2 separate regions of the Homo sapiens genome follow, and region 1 is linked to region 2. Evidence: promoter capture Hi-C in 16 types of primary human blood cells and fetal thymus (Javierre and others, 2016). All regions are on one chromosome and are shown on one strand. Each heading gives the region's core, a stretch centred on a gene start or on the middle of the fragment in contact. The rest is flanking DNA. Distances are from core to core; before and after follow the strand shown. Region 1 overlaps ADAM12 (ADAM metallopeptidase domain 12). Region 2 holds the start of C10orf88 (chromosome 10 open reading frame 88).

The links. The method cuts DNA at HindIII sites, captures the fragments that hold promoters and counts their contacts. A CHiCAGO score of 5 or more calls a contact.
Region 1: a fragment that was not itself captured here is called in contact with the fragment with the promoter of C10orf88 in region 2 in 1 of 17 cell types (monocytes); the score reaches 5.3 in monocytes.

What each region holds. Positions count from the first base shown.
Region 1 is chr10:126,039,029-126,046,026 of GRCh38, reverse strand. It overlaps ADAM12 (ADAM metallopeptidase domain 12), which reads left to right. Exons shown (of 23, transcript NM_001288973.2): 18 at 2,879-2,987; 19 at 6,598-6,733. Among named protein-coding and RNA genes, the nearest start is that of FANK1-AS1, 69 kb to the right of the region's middle. RefSeq lists an enhancer at 2,456-3,113. The HindIII fragment of the contact is 8,824 bases long and covers 1-6,998 here.
Region 2 is chr10:122,951,700-122,957,897 of GRCh38, reverse strand. C10orf88 (chromosome 10 open reading frame 88) reads left to right here and starts at 3,671. Exons shown (of 6, transcript NM_024942.4): 1 at 3,671-3,883; 2 at 4,866-5,069; 3 at 5,872-5,944. The coding sequence starts at 3,720. It overlaps LOC124902519 (a long non-coding RNA gene), which reads right to left and starts at 3,456. Exons shown (of 2, transcript XR_007062325.1): 1 at 3,330-3,456. RefSeq lists a silencer at 3,876-3,955. The HindIII fragment of the contact is 5,860 bases long and covers 1,691-6,198 here.

The sequences.
Region 1 (6,998 bases), core at 2,960-5,459, 3.1 Mb before region 2:
CCAGCCCATAACAAGTTAAGTAATAATACATTCATTTGTAAAAGGTTTTGCAATCCATAGCATTTTTTAAATAGAGCAGTTATTGTGTTTGAAATATTTTCTTCTAAAGGTATTCATTTCTTTTGACCTTTTCATGTGACTTTTATTTAACAAAGAAAATCAGACTGAGCTGTAATTACCTTTTAAATTAACATTCTATGATTTTAAAAAAGACTTTTGTTGTTCAAAGTAATTTGAAAAGCAACCTTCCTTCATGAAGAGTTTCAAAATAACATTTCAAACTGTGCTGTTCCTCTTACTACCAACATTCAGAACCAGTGTCTGAACTGAAATATTTCCAAAAGGAATTAAAACAAGGACAACAGATCATATTAAACACATGTTCTTGAAATCACACACAATGGGTTTCAACTAAAGAAGGCTGTTATTTTAGTTCAGAGAACCTTTAGGGTAGAAGAGGACTCTAATTGCTGAAAACATAATTTATTTTTCTTGATGGGCTTATTTCCAATGGAATCATATTAGTCTTGATTAACCACACCAGAGGTTCATTTGTTTTCCTGAAACCTTTCCTACAGAAATCCTGCTCCAAATTCTTTATTTTAAAACTTGTAGACACTTGCCAATGATTCTTACACAGAATTACCGGGTGCATGGGGGGAGGGGGTTGTAAATTACCATCATGCTGGAACCATAAAGGATCACAGTGTCACCTCAGATGGGGGTGTTGACGGTAAGGTTAGCTAACTCCCAATATACAATGGAATCTTCTTATGTCTTCATTGGATCATAGATTATTTTCTGATGGCTGTTAAGAGATGATCAAGTCCAGTCCTATTATTTTACTGAAGAAGCCAGGCCCTGAGCTGTGGGGATGGTGTGCCCAAGGTAATATGGCCGGCAAGCTGCAAGCTGGTTGAGGACCCTGGACCACTCCCTTTCCAATACCCCTTGGCCTTATCCACACATGGGAGCGGAGAGGCCCGCATTTGCTGGGTAGGTGGAGCCTACCCAGCCTTGCTGAAGGGTAGCTTGGCCACAGTCCCACCCTAACAAGGGCAGGCTCCCGGCAGCACCTTCCTGTGGGTTTTAAAACAAGGCGCATGACCACAAGTTGCAGAGAGAAGCCATGAGGGGCAGGCATGAATCTGGGGCTAGTACGTCCACAGCAGCATCTTTGAGGGGACAGGCAAGACACTTACATTTGACGTAGGCTCTGCCACTTGCTGACAAGTTCTACTCAATTTCTGCTTTATAGCAGTCTACTTTCTAACTTATTAAAGCCTATCTTGACAGTCGGCCTTCTTATCTGAAGCAATGAGGGTAGGTGGTTGATTCATCAAAACAAGTCGGTTGAAGCAGGAAAGCATTACATGGGAGACATATACTCTACGCATTTTATTTTGCCTTAAAATATGAAACTGTATATCTGGCAGCCATATTTTGATGGCGGGCTGAGGCCTTTAGGATTGATTTACTGAATGTCATTGTGCATCGACTTCCTGATATAAACCACCCAAAAATGCATCATCAACAACTTCTAGTTCGTTTCTTTTTGTGGAAGGGAACCTTAGACACTCAACAGCATCCAAGAACAGCCTCCTCCTTGTCCTCTGCAGCTCTTCCCAATCATTGTGCAGTAGTCCCACTCATTCCTAATTTTTCAGAAATTCTTTTAGTGATTTCTCTTTTTTAATCCAGTGTTCCCAAAGGATTCAACCTAATTTTTTTTAACTTTTTTTTTTTTTATCTTTATAAAGACAGGGTTTCACCACGTTGGCTAGGCTGGTCTTGAACTCCTGGCCTCAAGTGATCTGCCCACCTTGGCCTCCCACTTGCTGGGATTACAGGCATGAGCCACCGTGCCTGGACTTGACAACCTAATTTTCATAGAAAAAAATATATTAAATATATATCATCTTCATGGTCATCTTCCATTGGATCATGTACTTTCAGTTAGTTACATCTGGCATAATAGCGAGTCCAACCAGCATGGACAGGCTTGGGAGTGGCCGCCATCAGTAGCCCTTGGTAACCAGGTGGGCAGGGGCTGCTGGCCCCTGCATGGAATGCTCTGGTCTATGAGCTGGGCCCAACAAGGGTGAAGCACAGCCTCCTCGGGCTTTCTTGGTCTCCCTTTCCCGCCGTGCCAGAACCATTCTCTTATTTCACAATGAAAAGAATCCACTGTTGGATTCGCACCCTGGTGCGTGACTGGGAGCCAGGGAACAGCCACTGGGAACCTCTGCAAGAAGGAGGCAGGCGTTGCAGGAAGGACACACGGGGACAGGCTTCAGGAAGTATTAGTGGAAATCCCATGCACCCTGCTAGGATTGCAGGAAACAGGATTCCTTTGCTCAGGAAACGGGGGGCCTGCCTCGGACCCCAGCCTGGCGTGGGACCCGGCAGTCACCAGCCTCTCTGAGCCTTCTGTCTGAAGGAGACAGGGATGCGCCAAGCATCTGTCAGGTCCCGCGGTGCCCCAGGGCTCTGGGTCTGTAGCCCCAAAGCACGGTCCCTCCTCACTGCTGAGGGGGCTTCTCCTCATGGTCAGACAGTTTTCCAGATTGAAAAAGGAAGATGGGGAGATGGAGAAGGAAGTGAGGTGGGTGGGGGAGGCAAGCTGATGAACCCAAATAATCTTCATCACTCTCTTTACAGCCACTAATAGGCAGATGATGCATCTTCACAGCCTCAGGTTTGGTCGCCCCTGTGTGGTGTGTAGTGCCGGCTTTGGGCTTATTCGCACCATGGCGTGTGCTGAGTCTGGCTGTGTCAGTGTTGGGGGGGGGCTCTGACCATGGCCCCCCTTGCTTCTGCTGTGGTGATGCACAGAGCATATGCCCTAACCCCACGTCCCTCCCCTCTGCCCTGAAAGGTGTGCAACAACAGGAAGAACTGCCACTGCGAGGCCCACTGGGCACCTCCCTTCTGTGACAAGTTTGGCTTTGGAGGAAGCACAGACAGCGGCCCCATCCGGCAAGCAGGTCAGTGAAGCCCCTGCATCCCGGTGGGAGGAGGCTGAGCACCTGGGGGCGGGTGGGCTCGCCAGCTGTCAGCATGGGTGCAGGTAGAGCCAACAAGAAACCCAGTGGGGACCCCACATGGGTCTACACAGCCTAGGGTCTCCCGCAGTTTCCAGATGCCCCTCTCATCCCTGCCCGATCTTCTCTGAGGCTCCTTGCTCTCTGCTTTGACTGAGTGGCTGAGTTTGCCAGTTCCTTAGCCTGCGACACTTTTCTTAACTAAGGTCATTTCTATAGTGAACTGCTGAATGGGTATGAATGTCATCACTGTATCAAAGTACTTTGTAAAGGCCGACATCTGTGTGGTAGGGTGACAAGGTGTGAAGTTTAATGCCTTTTAAAAATCTTACTGGAAAGACACCCACCTCTTAGTAAAGGTGACAGTCACGGCAGCAGTGGGAGTCATTGCAACAGCTTTTGCATATGGAATGATGTGTGCAGGTGCTGTGTGGTGCATTTTATGCCCATGATGTCATCCCCTCCTTATACAACTCTGAAGAAGGTGGTATGATTCTTTTCTCACATACCTAGGACCTGAGGCTCAGGGAAGTTAAGTAATTTGCCTAATGTGATCTCGCTAAGATTTACACACACACAGGTCTGCCTGTCCCCCAAGAAGCTCTTAGTAGCAGCTGTGCTTGAACTCGTGGCCATTTCTCCTCGGATGACCTTTAGAAATGGTTTACTGGTGCGGTGCTGTTTTCTCTGAGTTCTTATTGGGCAATTCAGGGGCAAGTCTAAATGATGCCTCTTTTCGAGGGAAAGAAGCAAGGCAGGAAGCTGCAGAGTCCAACAGGGAGCGCGGCCAGGGCCAGGAGCCCGTGGGATCGCAGGAGCATGCGTCTACTGCCTCACTGACACTCATCTGAGCCCTCCCATGACATGGAGACCGTGACCAGTGCTGCTGCAGAGGAGGTCACGCGTCCCCAAGGCCTCCTGTGACTGGCAGCATTGACTCTGTGGCTTTGCCATCGTTTCCATGACAACAGACACAACACAGTTCTCGGGGCTCAGGAGGGGAAGTCCAGCCTACCAGGCACGTCTGCAGAAACAGTGCAAGGAAGGGCAGCGACTTCCTGGTTGAGCTTCTGCTAAAACATGGACATGCTTCAGTGCTGCTCCTGAGAGAGTAGCAGGTTACCACTCTGGCAGGCCCCAGCCCTGCAGCAAGGAGGAAGAGGACTCAAAAGTCTGGCCTTTCACTGAGCCTCCACAGCAGTGGGGGAGAAGCAAGGGTTGGGCCCAGTGTCCCCTTTCCCCAGTGACACCTCAGCCTTGGCAGCCCTGATGACTGGTCTCTGGCTGCAACTTAATGCTCTGATATGGCTTTTAGCATTTATTATATGAAAATAGCAGGGTTTTAGTTTTTAATTTATCAGAGACCCTGCCACCCATTCCATCTCCATCCAAGCAAACTGAATGGCAATGAAACAAACTGGAGAAGAAGGTAGGAGAAAGGGCGGTGAACTCTGGCTCTTTGCTGTGGACATGCGTGACCAGCAGTACTCAGGTTTGAGGGTTTGCAGAAAGCCAGGGAACCCACAGAGTCACCAACCCTTCATTTAACAAGTAAGAATGTTAAAAAGTGAAAACAATGTAAGAGCCTAACTCCATCCCCCGTGGCCATTACTGCATAAAATAGAGTGCATTTGAAATACCGCTGCCTCCACCCTGTTCATACATATATAAAATCAAGGCAGGCCATGAGCAAGCATGGCTCACTGCTCCCTGGCCTGGCCATGGCTCAGGGGCTCATTAAACAAGTACTTGTGTGTCTGCCACACACCAGCCACTCTCCTGGGTCCTGGAGAGACATTAAGCAAGAATGACATGGCATAAGTGAGGGGTACGACTGCAGGGAGAGAGGGCATCATGGGAGGGGAGCAACCCCCACAGAGCGGCAGGGGGTTGTCAGGAAGGCTCCTGGGGACCCTGCATCTGTTGAGGTCTGAAGGGGGCGAGGGAAACATGCATTCTGAAGCCGAGATAGCTGGCTGTGCGAAGATCTAGAGGAGTGTGGACTGGCCTGGGCTCAGATTCTAGAGTGCGGACTGGGCCAACAGGAGGGGACACAGGACACGGTGCTCGTGCTGGTCCTGGGGAAGAGGGAAATGGAGTCAGTCACTGCCCGGGCCTCTGGCTTGAGCAACCCTGGGGAGTTCAGCAGGTTCAGTGTGGGGGCCCTGTAAATGTTCAGTTTCATAGATTGATGTATTGAAGATTTATGGATTCACTTTATGGAACTAGAAATTATAGTTCAAGATTTTTGCTGTTCACTTTTTAAATTAACTTTAATTAACTTTGTTATGAGACACCAGAACTCTAGCTAGAGCCCCCTGTGATCACTACTAAGGGTCTGAAAAGAGTGACATTTTGCCCAGGAAACCAGAAGCAATGCTTTTCCAGTAACACCAACAAGTAAGTCAAGACTGTCATCTGTTGGCTGTCTTGCTTAGGCTAAGACACATCCCTGATAGGCCTTGTTAGTGGGGGATGGGGTCCAGAAACCAAGAAGGTGTGAAAGACATTCTTTCCCTGGAGTAGGAGCTGCTGCTGCAGTGATCCACAGCCAGCTGAGGGTCCAGGTGGGAGGCAGGGCCGAGGAGAGCCCAGGTAACTGCATCACGGCGATCACCAGCAGCCGGAAAGGACTGTTGCACACTTACCTGATGTGAAGTACACCCTGATCCTTGCTGATGGGAAGACAAATGAATCAAGATCCCTGTCCTCTAAAAATTCACTGTCCAGTTGAAATCACAGGTAGACCTCCTCTAAGTCTGAGCATTTAGAGTCCTTCCCAGACAGCCGCTGACCATAGCTACTGTAAGAAACCAACCTGATGGTTTGATTTTTTTCCTTCCTTTCCCTACCCTTGAGGAGGCTCTTAACTGTATTAAACAAAATGGCAGCAGGTCATAGAAAAGAAGATGTTTTCATAGAGAAAATAGCTTCCTCCCAGGAAAAGGGTTTCCCCCACAAAGGCTGTGTTTTTAAGTCCCCAACATAACAAAGCAAAACCCATGGGTGTTTCATTTAAATGAGTTTTCTTTCTCTTTTTTCACTATCTACTTTGAGATGTCCAGCAAGAAAGCAATTCATTTTTTAAAAACACGAAAAGAGATAAAGCAGAACCCAACTACAGAATGAGTAAAGAAAAGCACTTTGGAATGGCAAATCTGTGCTGGGGACTGGAAACATTTGAGCCTGGGGATGGCTGTGATTCCAGTGAGGCTTCAGTGATGGCTCCCTGCTACCTTCTGTGGCTACCATGGTCCACTGTGCCGTTGTCACGCCTCAGGGAACCTGCGTGGTCCAGACCATCACCCCACCTACCCGACTATATATTCCTGTTTAGCAAGTTCTAGAGTTGTCAGAAATGAATGATGGTAACATAGATTGAACCTCAAACATGGCATCTGAAGTAAGACAGTTTATTAGTACATCACTCACGGGTGTACTCTCTTCATTTCTGTTGCTTCAGAGTTCACTTTGCCATAAACGTCACAACTTGATACCTCCCATATTTCATTGTAACTGCCTCCTTCTGTGAGCCCCATGTGTTTTGTTTCAGATAACCAAGGTTTAACCATAGGAATTCTGGTGACCATCCTGTGTCTTCTTGCTGCCGGATTTGTGGTTTATCTCAAAAGGAAGACCTTGATACGACTGCTGTTTACAAATAAGAAGACCACCATTGAAAAACTAAGGTACCCTGGGTTTAGCTTGTCATCTGTTCTAGAAATGGTGGCTCAGAGGCTGGGTGCGGTGGCTCAAGCCTGTAATCCCAGCACTTTGGGAGGCTGAGGCGGGCGGATCACGAGGTCAGGAGATCGAGACCACGGTGAAACCCCGTCTCTACTAAAAATACAAAATATCAGCCGGGCGCGGTGGTGGGTGCCTGTAGTCCCATCTACTCGGGAGGCTGAGGCATGAGAATGGCGTGAACCCGGGAGGCGGAGCTTGCAGTGAGTT
Region 2 (6,198 bases), core at 2,422-4,921:
GGTATAGAGTATTATTTATTTAATTTTAAATAATTATTTAAAATTGAGCTCCAGAGATCAAACTGACAGAGTGTGTCTCAAGTGTGGCCTTACTATATAAATCACACTGTTGATATAAGCTAGCTAGGTATACAAAGACACTCTTATCAGGCAGGACATTCCAATAGGTTAGCGGTCATCTTCCCAGAGCTGGTCAAGAGCCAACTTCTTTGGAAGCTGCAGGGTTTGAACCTCCCAGACTTCCTGAGTTAACCCTTTATTGCATAACAGTTTTAGACAAGATTGGGCATGTTCAGGGTGGTATGGCCATCGACTATTGCATAAGAGTTTTAGGATAAGAAAGCGTCATACAGGTGATAATCATGGATGCGGGCACAGATTCAGCTCTAGTTCGAGAGCTTCTGCAGCATTTCTACATTTCCTCAGAAAGGTTGTATTGAAAATGATATACAGTCTAACAATGTTTCTAACTAGAACAGAGGTTCTAGTTAAAATGAGGTAGAAAGCAGCTATAAATGAAGTTGGGAGAAAAAGATAGGAAGGTTGTTCTTTTCCACTCTGTTAAAATTGCAGGCCCTGTATTGAGGCAGGGTGAGAAGGAATTCCTGGCAACTGTGGGACCTGCAAGGACCAGAAGAGAGGGAAAGGAGGAGAGAAGGTACAACTCAAGTGGTCCTGAGAAGGAAGTTAAGTTCCTATAACCACCTTGCTGGGAAGTATACTCCTGTGTAAAAGGCAGGGCATATATAGTAAGAACTCAATCTACTTAAGATAGTCAAAACATCTAAACTGTGGCATTACTAAATGAATGTGCTCAAGAAAATTAGTATCCTAAGTTACTTTTTTCTAAAATGTACCTTTCAAATGTGCGTTGGCTCATATTCTGAAAACAGATTTGAAATATGCTCCTAAATATTGAGTTCTTGCATATCATTACTGGTGGGAAATTTCCAACTGTATTAGCCATCTTCACGCTGCTGATAAAGACATACCTGATACTGGGTAATTTATAAAGACAAGGTTTAATGGACTCACAGTTCCATGTGGTTGGTTGGGGAGGCCTCACAATCATGGCAGAAGAGCAAGGCAGAGGAAAGAGAGAATGAGAGCGAAGCGAAAGGCGCTTCCCCTTATAAAACCATCAGATCTCCCAAGACTTATTCACTACCACGAGAACAGTATGGGGGAAACTGCCCCCACCATTCAGTTATCTCCCACGGGGTCCCTCCCACAACAAGTGGGAATTATGGGAGCCACAATTCAAGATGACATTTGGGTGGGGACACAGCCAACCATATCACCAACTATATTTTCTGATTTACTTCAAAGAGAAAAGTAAAGCAAAAAACTCACTTGTAATTCATGACAAGAATAATGTATCATATTAAGATTGAAGTCAGCTTTGAACCATAACCATCCTGGCTTTGGAAAAAAGCTTAAGATTGAATGTACTAATTTTCCTTTTTCTGCTGCTCTTAGTTTATGTGATAAAAGCTGTCACCAACCTATCAATTCCATACAACAAACCTGTACTCAACATAATGTCTATCTCAGCAAGCATGCAGATAGTAGGGAACACAGATATATAAACAGGCAAAGTCTGACATCAAAGGAGAATTATACTACCTAAAAAAGTGGTAATTGTAGCACAGAGGAATTTGTTTAATTCTGTAGCAGGATGAAGTAAGCTTGGTTTCGCATGATAAATAGGATTTTTCCTACTATTGAAAAAAATGGCATTCTAGGTAGAGGAAACTGGAAGGTAGGCAGGGTTCAAAGTACAAAGGACTCTGCATGCTATGCTAAGGAGTGAAGGTGTTGATTCAGTCAGGAACATTGATCACCAGAAGGAGAAGAGGGCAGTGCAAAGACTGAAATGGAAGGAATCAAAATGAAAGCTACTGACAAACTCCTGGAATTGTTCAGATAAAGCTAGTGCTTGGAAACAGAAGAAGCAGAGATAGGAAAATTTTTCTTTAAGAAAATGAAGACTTGGTGGTTTATTGGCTGTATGGAAATAAAGGAAAGGATAGACCATAGGAATCTTTTGTTTTCTGATTCCTGGACATTCAGCTTTATTTAAGGAAGTCAAAATCCAGTTTATAATATTGCTATTGCTCATGAAATTGCAGATTAGTTTCTGAAGAGCCTATTTTCCTTCGGATTGTCCACATGTATTAATGTGGATCAAAGTTAACTTACAACCACAGGAAGCAGGACATACAGGACAAAAATAATGACAAGGACAACTTAGAATGAGTCTGAAATATTAAAAAAATCTTTGCAAACGAGGACTTTACAATTCTGCTATGATAGACCTTTGGTGACATTTCTCTCTTTCAATCTTGGTGAATTCACCTACCATACGTACATTCTGGTGATTACTTATAGAAAAATACATTTGGTCATCATTTTTCTTGCTTTGACACAGGTAAACAGAATGCAAAGTTTATTCTCATTTTTAGCTAGAGGGCACAAGTCCTAGTACATAAACTCAAACGAAAACATAAGCAAAAAGATTAAAGTAATGCGCACTGAGTCATGAACCCAGAATAGACAGCTCTGAAAGAAAATTAGAGTATGGGTGAGCAAAAACGTTATTTCCTAGAGAGGATACCACCTTAAACACAACTTTGGAACTCTAGATTATAGACAAGTGGAATTTCAGAGTTTGCTTTTTTCAAAAGACAGAAAAATAATCTGCACAAGCCTCTACAGGAGGAGGATGAGGGGGCACACTATATACAGTCCCATCCCGTGGGGCATCTAGAAAGTTCCATCTGCTCCCACTGTTCTGCATCCGTAGCCTTAAGTTCCTTCAAGACTGAGTTCATATTCTACTTCAACAGAGTTCTGAGACCCCCCCTTTCCACTCGCTGTTTCCAGTGCCATGAGGAGCGATCTCATGGGGCAGCCCCTGCCTTCGGTGTCTGGGTCTTTCTTGCATTTCAAATTTCTGTCACCTAGAGCGTCCAGCCCTGGATGCCCGGGTTCCTGCGGCCTGAGGGTTGCACATGGGGTCAGGGGGCGTCAGCTGAGACAGCACCCGGCGAAGGCCAGCGTGGCTCAATGCCCATCACAGATGCCCTTCAACCCCAAAACCCCATCATCCGCTTCAGCCCCCCTCTAAAGCGAGAATATGTGTGAGGGAGGCTAGGAGAATTCGAAGTAAAAATAACCCGAATCGGCAGCGCGTCCGCCGCGCTAGCTGCCACAAATGCTGCAGATCCGACGGAATGGAAGCAGAAAAGGCCCTGGCGTCCCCTTGGGAAAGAACGAGGTCAGGAGTCGGTCTTGCACGCAGCGTAGAGCGACGAGACTACACCTACCTGATCACAGACGTTCCACACCAGCTCAGCAACGGTCGTCCACGCCGCTTGCTGTTTCCCCACAGCCAACGTCGAAAACACCCTCGTGCCGGCGCGCAGTGCACCGCGCCTGCGCATAGTCTCCAGCGAAAGAGCAAGGGTCTGCCAGTGCGCATGCTCCGCTCTCGACCTCCTCCCCGCACACTTTGAACGCCGCGCCTGAGGCCAGCTGGCACATGCGCATGCGTGTCTCTGGTGCCTGCTCTCCCCACCAAAGCAAGAAGCGGCGGGTACTTGAAGCGGAGTGAGCCGGAAGTCGCTTTGCCTGCCCATTTCCACGCTGTACCGGCGGAAATTCAAGCACTGGAAGAGAGGTTCCGGGGCTGGGCTGGCCTGACTGAAGGCGGCGGAATGGAGACGCGGACCGAGGACGGGGGCCTCACCCGCCGCCCCACGCTGGCCTCTTCTTGGGATGTTGCAGGCGGGGCCCTGACCCACAGCCTCCTCCTCACCCGGGCCGGTCTCGGCCCCGGTGACTTCGACTGGGAGGAGCTGCTGGCACCGCCTGCTCCAGGGTGCGCCGGGCCGACGGGGACGGGGTCGCTATGCTCGGCAACTGCCGCGCTTCTAGGGGAGCTGTGAGGGGAGGCGAGAGGGTCTGAGCCCGGGATCCGGGAGAGCAGTTGGTACCAGGTCTCTAGTTGGGGAGGGGAGCTGCGAGGTCGTCCGGGGTGGGCGGAGGGGGGTGGGTCCGGCCGGGAAGGGGCCGAGGCTCCTGGGCGTGAGAGGGGGAAGGTGACCCGGACTCGGAATTTCATATAACGTCCCCATCAGGCGTGATAGCCCCTCAGGGCTGCTGTCAAAGTCAGTCCGCCCCTCTACCCTCAAACAAGACACCTCCTGTCCACCAAAACAGGCTGTGTAAAAAGTCCAGCTATAGATGATCGCTGTCGACTTAATTTCGAAAAAGATACACTTTTGTCTTTCATTGTGCCCTGCACCCAGTAGGTGCCCAGTGATTTATGTAATTATCCGAGAGTCAATTGCAGGGGATTGAGTAGAATGTTGATTGAGGAAAAAATAGAGTTTGGGAAAGCCCTGATGTGTGACACCTTCATTTCCGTATGAATTCTGTGTTGAGCGCTTCTTGGATGCTTGGGAAGGTGCTTGGACCTCAAGGGCAAGTGGAAGTGAGTTAGAAGAAAGAAGCCCCGGCCGGGCACGGTGGCTCACACCTGTAATCCCAGCACTTTGGGAGGCCGAGGCGGGCGGATCACGACGTCAGGAGATCAAGACCATCCTGGCTAACACGGCGAAACCCCGTCTCTACGAAAAATACAAAAAATTAGCCGGGCGCGGTGGCGGGTGCCTGTAGTCCCAGCTGCTTGGGAGGCTGAGGCAGGAGAATGGCGTGAACCCGGAAGGCGGAGCGTGCAGTGAGCCGAGATGGAGCCACTGCATTCCAGCCTGGGCGACAGAGCCAGACTCCGTCTCAAAAAAGAAGAGTCATGTTCAGAGAACTATACTGTGTGATGTTTTCACCAATTTTCTTCTCAGTCAGGATCTGGTGATTTTGAAGAGAAACCACAACAACAAAGATGAAAACCCCTGCTTCCTTTACCTGAGGTGTGGCCCTGATGGAGGTGAAGAAATCGCTTCTATTGGCATTTTAAGTTCAGCAAGAAATATGGAAGTGTACTTAGGAGAGGAGTACTGTGGAACCAGTAGGGGCAAGAATGTTTGTACTGTCCTGGATGACAGGTGTGTGACTTGTACACGGGAAAGTGTTCTTCTGAAGTAGTGTTTTGATTTTTCTCACTTTTTGCAATAATTATTGATTCTCTGATATTGATACCATATGTTATGGGAGAGAAGATAAAAATGTGCCAGTAGGCATAGAAGTTTACAACTTTAGAGATCTTAAAAGACAGTGTAGATCAGCCTAGTTATTTTTATAAATGTTGAAATTTAGAACTAACAATCAAGGTGAATTGGTAGGAGGTCATAGCTAGTTAGTGGAAGAGTTTTATTAGAATGAAATTTTGAGAAGTGTGTCTCTTTCCTTAAACTCACAGCAGTCTGTCTTCCGAAAGTTAATTTGGTAGTCAGTCTGGAACTTTGAATACATTTTCTTCTTGGAAGCCTATTAGAAATGGTGGAGGGATCTAAGACTGTGCTACATAAACCTATTTATTAACCTGTAACGCAACTTGTGATTTTTTTTCTTACGAAGATTTTTCTCCAATCTGTCTTTAACACAAAATATGAACTGTTTTATATCCTGCATGTTGGAAACAATTGCTGTGTTTATTGAGCTTTAAAATACAGTCTGGCTACATGGTTGTACATATGTTATATAATGTAATTTTCTCATTGAGCCTAGTAAGTGGTAGATGTAATCATAGGCAGTGTGCTTCAGTTATGGAGCCCAACTCTTCATGCCTCACCAGGAAAACTGAATCTTAGGATTTCAATATTGTTCTGGAAACATTTATTTTTAAGTGTAACTATTAAAAGTGACAATATATGTAAGTAAAAAAAATTAATTCTTTTTTATTTTTAGTGAACATGAAAAGATCATTTTGTATAAAAAAAATCTAAAATTGGAGTCCTCCACACATGCTTGTAAAATAAAGGTAAGTTGTCAGTTGTAAACTAATTTGACAACTAAGTTGTTTTTGTACTCTGTGTATGCTTGTTTTCTTTTGGATTAGTAATACAATTAGTCCAACTTGCTTGCTTGCTTTTTTTTTTCTTTTCAAGACAGTATCTTGCTCTGTTGCCCAGGCTGGAGTGCAGTGGGACAATCATGGCTCACTGCAACGTCATCTCCCAGCTCAAGCTAACTTCCTACCTCAGCCTCCCAAGTAGCTGGGACTACAGGCATACA